2 separate regions of the Homo sapiens genome follow, and region 1 is linked to region 2. Evidence: promoter capture Hi-C in 16 types of primary human blood cells and fetal thymus (Javierre and others, 2016). All regions are on one chromosome and are shown on one strand. The core of a region is centred on a gene start or on the middle of the fragment in contact, and the rest is flanking DNA. Distances in the headings are between cores, read along the strand shown.

Region 1 (3,103 bases), core at 36-2,535, 34 kb after region 2:
GTCCATACAGTATAGGTATGTCGAGAAATGAAGTATTATATTTTTGTGAGTTGCAATTCTTTTATTCACATTTTTGTGTACTTTGGTTGTCTTTTCTTGTGTTTTCCTAGTACCAATGTTATGCTGACTTAGGCAGATGAGTTGAGTATTTTCCTTTTTGCCCTATAAACTGAAAATAGTTTGTATGACATGAGAATTATTTTTATTTTTTGAAGGTTTGATAAAAACTTGCCCATAAAAATCATCTGGACCGTGTTTCTTTGGAGGATAATTTTGTATATATCCTCTCAATTTGTTATGGGGTCATTGTTCTAGAGTTCATATATCTTGAGTCAACTTTAGTAATTTTGTGACTTTTTAAAGGGATTTTTTCTCAATCTTTTTAAAAGATCTCAGGTTTTATTGCCAAAGATTTTTTCTCATTAATCTTTTTAAAAGACCTCAGGTTTTATTGATTATTTTTTCTCTTGCATCAATGTCTGCATCTATTTTTATATTTATTGCTCTTTTCCTAGCTTTTTAATTGAAACCTTAGATCATTTAAAAGTGAGTCTTTCTTTTTTTTTTTTTTATAAATATGTTCAGTGCTATAGCAGATTTGCCTCTGAATTTTACTTTGGTCATATCCCTCAGATTTGACTAAGTAATACTCTTTATCAGTCAGGATCAAGTCTGAAAAACAAACCACAGAAAGAATGTAATTGGTTACACAGTATCTTATGTGGGTTCTCTAGAGGTGGAGCCTAAGAGGAGAATCCATGTGAAAGTAGTTTATTAGGAAGACACTCCAGGGAAAACTGGGAGGGGAGTGAAGTTGTAGGATCAGAAAAGCGAATCCATGGACGGTGACTCTGGCACAGCCCCACAGGGGAGCTCTGGAGACAGTGTAGGTCACATCTCTCAGAGTCATCCTGATCAGAGGCAAGGGAGCTACATTGTTAAAGCTTCCATGGTCATTTATTCATGGCTGCCTCGGGCGGACAAGAATTGTCAGGCACTTCTCACTCTCTGGGCACATACGAGGGAGCACAGATGCTGGCTGTGAAAGCACGCGGTAAGCCTGTGTGCACAAGATGCTGAAGGGATCAGAAGGAGTGTGGGTGCTACACACAGGGCTGACAGCACACAGGAACCTGAGGTAATGTGATAACTGTAGGAAGCAGCTTGTACCCACTGGGTCTAGGAGAACAAAGAGAGGTTAGGGTATCAGAACCAAGAAGCAGGAGAGACAAACCCTGGTAGAAATGGGACTCCAACTGTAAGGAAGGCATACTACCCAGCAGATGATGGAGGAGAGGCCCTGCAGGGCTGGGGCTCAGATTTTGAGGAAAAGATGCTATCCATTTGGTGCTTCTGCTCTGAAGCTGCACAGGGAGGTGGGCTCTGAGGGGGAAAAAAAGATGCTAGAACCAACTGTTACTGCCAGGGTGAGGGACCGTTGCTGGGGTGATGAAAGCAAATAGGAAGAAGCAAGTGTCTTCCTTCTCCATCCCTGCAGCCTCCCTCTCGTGCCCCCTGCTGGCAGAGCTGAGCAGGGAGCTGCTGCCCAGCAGAAAGTTTTACAGAGTTTTATCCCCAGCATCACAAAGCAGAGGATGGGGTTTGGGGCCAATAGACAAAAGCTTCATAACTGACATATCTTGTCATTGTTCATTTCTAAATAGCTTGAGATTCCCATTTTGAGTTCTTTAACCCAAAAAATATCTTAGAAAAGTATCTTTTAATTTCCAGATGTGTAGATTTTTTTTTTCTGCTGTTAATTTCTAATTATATTGCATTGTAGTTGGTGAATGTGGCCTATGTGTACTCTACTTGATGGATTTTGTTGAAATTTTCTTTGTGGCCTTAATATCTGATCATTCTTGGTAAATGTTCCAAAAGTGTTTGAAAATAATGTATATCCTATTTGTTTATTTGATCTATTGCTTTCTGAAAGAAATATGCCAAAGTCTGTCACTGGCACTGTGATTAATCATTGACAATTTCTCTTCATATGTCTGTCAATTTTTACTTTCTATTTTTTAAAGTTATGTTGTTAGGTACAGAAAGATTCATGACTTGCTTTGATTTCTTTTGTCTGATTAATCTTGCCACACCTGCTTTTTGTTGTTAGAATATGTCTGGTAGCTCTGGTAGCTCTTTTTCCATCCCTTTACTTTAAGCCTTCATGGGCTGACTTATTTTAGGTATGTCTCATATAAATGCACACAGTTAAATGTTTTAAACAAATTTGAAACTCTCTGCTTTTAAAAAGCAAATTTAGTTCGTACACATTTATTATGATTACTTGTATGTTTAAACTTATGCCTGCTATTTTATTTTGTAATTCAGCTTACATGAATTATTTTTTCCTCATTTCTGTGTTTAATCTAGTTTTATTTCATAAAATAATACACTGAAATGAAAATAAAGTGATAGATGTAAGCTCAAACATGATTTGCAGAATATATATCATATTCTTCTTGCAGTTCCTTTTTTCATTTTTTTTTTTTTTTTAAGAGACAGGGTTTCACTCTTTTGCCTAGATTGGAGTGCAGTGATGCCATCATAGCTCACTGCAACTTTAAACCTCCTGGGTGGACCCAAGTGATCCTCCACCTCAGCCTCCTGAGTAGCTAGGACTACAGGTACACACCACTACACCCATTATAGTTTACATTTTTTTGTAGACACAGGGTCTCACTGTGTTGCCCAGGCTGGTCTCAAACTCCTAGCCTCAAGCAGTCCTCTGCCTCAGCTTCCCAAAGTGCTGGGATTACAGGTGTGAACCACCCACTGCACCTGGCCTGCAGTTACTTTTATTTCAAGTCTTTCATGTGAATTCTAAAGTTTACTCACTAGTGACTTTATGATTTTTGAATGGCAAACCTTTTGAGTCTGTATTCTTGTGAAACTTGTTATTTGCCTTCATGCTGGAATCATAGTTTGGCTGGGGGAAATTTCTTAATTTCAGCTTGTTTTCCCTGGAAAAATTTAAGTGACTGCTTCATTTTCTTTCTTGCATCTGGAGTTGTTGATTTGTTAATGTCTCACGTCAGTCTGATTCTCATTCCTTTATAGGTAATCCTTTTCTTCCCCCTCTCTGGAAGCTTGTACGATTTTC
Region 2 (3,038 bases), core at 485-2,984:
GAACTATATTTTCTTTGGTGAACTGAGGCATTATAATGATGACTATACAGGTTCTTGAGTGACTGAAGCCATCATTAGCATTGTCATTATTTTTGTTTAGTTGCATCTCCATAGCAGCTCACATTCACAATGTGCTTTGCAATTGTTCCTTAGCAATAGCCCTCACAAGATTCTCAGGAGGAGAGGGTTAATCAGGATTAACATTTCTGTGTTGCCTAAAGAGGAACCAAGGTAAGCAGAAATGTAGCCAGTTGGCTGGCATCACTGTTGCTTCAGGATTCATCCTTAGACACCCAAGCTTCTACCCTAGTCTGGTGCTACACTTACATTGCTTACATCCAAGTGTGGTTATTTCTGTGGCTCCTGTTATAACTATTATAGCACCAGGTCTATGACCAGGAGAATTAGACTGGCATTAAATCAGAATAAGAGATTTTGCACCTGCAATAGACCTTATGACACCTAACCAACCCCATTATTTACAATTAAACAGGAACAGAGGGAATACTTTATCCAACTCACACAAGCTGCTTTCCTCCCAGATCCATGCTTTTTTGCGTTTATTATTTTTTAGAGATGGGGGCTTCACTATGTTGCCCACACTGGACTAAAACTCTGGGCCTCAAGTGATTGTCCTGCCTCAGCCTCCTGAATAGCTGGGACTACAGGGGCATGCCATCACACCTAGTTCATTTCCTCTATTTAAAATATACATGGCTTAAACTCCAACTGGGAACCCAAAACATTCATTTGCTAAGAGTCTGGTGTTCTACCACCTGAACTAGGCTGGCCACAGGAATTATAAAAGCTGAGAAATTCTTTAATAATAGTAACCAGGCAACACCATTGAAGGCTCATATGTAAAAATCCATGCCTTCCTTTCTCCCAATCTCCATTCCCAAACTTAGCCACTGGCTTCTGGCTGAGGCCTTACGCATACCTCCCGGGGCTTGCACACACCTTCTTCTACAGAAGACACACCTTGGGCATATCCTACAGAAGACCAGGCTTCTCTCTGGTCCTTGGTAGAGGGCTACTTTACTGTAACAGGGCCAGGGTGGAGAGTTCTCTCCTGAAGCTCCATCCCCTCTATAGGAAATGTGTTGACAATATTCAGAAGAGTAAGAGGATCAAGACTTCTTTGTGCTCAAATACCACTGTTCTCTTCTCTACCCTGCCCTAACCAGGAGCTTGTCACCCCAAACTCTGAGGTGATTTATGCCTTAATCAAGCAAACTTCCCTCTTCAGAAAAGATGGCTCATTTTCCCTCAAAAGTTGCCAGGAGCTGCCAAGTATTCTGCCAATTCACCCTGGAGCACAATCAACAAATTCAGCCAGAACACAACTACAGCTACTATTAGAACTATTATTATTAATAAATTCCTCTCCAAATCTAGCCCCTTGACTTCGGATTTCACGATTTCTCCCTTCCTCCTAGAAACTTGATAAGTTTCCCGCGCTTCCCTTTTTCTAAGACTACATGTTTGTCATCTTATAAAGCAAAGGGGTGAATAAATGAACCAAATCAATAACTTCTGGAATATCTGCAAACAACAATAATATCAGCTATGCCATCTTTCACTATTTTAGCCAGTATCGAGTTGAATGAACATAGAAAAATACAAAACTGAATTCTTCCCTGTAAATTCCCCGTTTTGACGACGCACTTGTAGCCACGTAGCCACGCCTACTTAAGACAATTACAAAAGGCGAAGAAGACTGACTCAGGCTTAAGCTGCCAGCCAGAGAGGGAGTCATTTCATTGGCGTTTGAGTCAGCAAAGGTATTGTCCTCACATCTCTGGCTATTAAAGTATTTTCTGTTGTTGTTTTTCTCTTTGGCTGTTTTCTCTCACATTGCCTTCTCTAAAGCTACAGCCTCTCCTTTCTTTTCTTGTCCCTCCCTGGTTTGGTATGTGACCTAGAATTACAGTCAGATTTCAGAAAATGATTCTCTCATTTTGCTGATAAGGACTGATTCGTTATACTGAGGGACAGCAGAACTAGTTTCCTATGAGGGCATGGGTGAATACAACTGAGGCTTCTCATGGGAGGGAATCTCTACTATCCAAAATTATTAGGAGAAAATTGAAAATTTCCAACTCTGTCTCTCTCTTACCTCTGTGTAAGGCAAATACCTTATTCTTGTGGTGTTTTTGTAACCTCTTCAAACTTTCATTGATTGAATGCCTGTTCTGGCAATACATTAGGTTGGGCACATAAGGAATACCAACATAAATAAAACATTCTAAAAGAAGTTTACGATCTAATAAAGGAGACAGGTACATAGCAAACTAATTCAAAGGAGCTAGAAGATGGAGAAAATGCTGAATGTGGACTAAGTCATTCAACAAAGTTTTCAGGAAGCACAAAGAGGAGGGGCTCCCCTCACAGATATCTGGATTAGAGGCTGGCTGAGCTGATGGTGGCTGGTGTTCTCTGTTGCAGAAGTCAAGATGGCCAAAGTTCCAGACATGTTTGAAGACCTGAAGAACTGTTACAGGTAAGGAATAAGATTTATCTCTTGTGATTTAATGAGGGTTTCAAGGCTCACCAGAATCCAGCTAGGCATAACAGTGGCCAGCATGGGGGCAGGCCGGCAGAGGTTGTAGAGATGTGTACTAGTCCTGAAGTCAGAGCAGGTTCAGAGAAGACCCAGAAAAACTAAGCATTCAGCATGTTAAACTGAGATTACATTGGCAGGGAGACCGCCATTTTAGAAAAATTATTTTTGAGGTCTGCTGAGCCCTACATGAATATCAGCATCAACTTAGACACAGCCTCTGTTGAGATCACATGCCCTGATATAAGAATGGGTTTTACTGGTCCATTCTCAGGAAAACTTGATCTCATTCAGGAACAGGAAATGGCTCCACAGCAAGCTGGGCATGTGAACTCACATATGCAGGCAAATCTCACTCAGATGTAGAAGAAAGGTAAATGAACACAAAGATAAAATTACGGAACATATTAAACTAACATGATGTTTCCATTATCTGTAGTAAATACTAACACAAACTAGGCTGTCAAAATTTTGC

The links. Contacts are between HindIII fragments. The CHiCAGO score rates a contact against its expected background, and 5 or more counts as called.
Region 1: a contact is called between a fragment that was not itself captured here and the fragment with the promoter of IL1A in region 2, in 2 of 17 cell types (M2 macrophages and endothelial precursors). The highest score is 5.5, in M2 macrophages.

The regions. Positions count from the first base shown.
Region 1 is chr2:112,748,260-112,751,362 of GRCh38, reverse strand. The region is part of intron 5 of CKAP2L (cytoskeleton associated protein 2 like); the gene reads left to right. Among named protein-coding and RNA genes, the nearest start is that of CKAP2L, 15 kb to the left of the region's middle. RefSeq lists an enhancer at 1,309-1,358. The HindIII fragment of the contact is 678 bases long and covers 947-1,624 here.
Region 2 is chr2:112,783,189-112,786,226 of GRCh38, reverse strand. IL1A (interleukin 1 alpha) reads left to right here and starts at 1,734. Exons shown (of 7, transcript NM_000575.5): 1 at 1,734-1,784; 2 at 2,449-2,503. The coding sequence starts at 2,457. The HindIII fragment of the contact is 4,198 bases long and covers 301-3,038 here.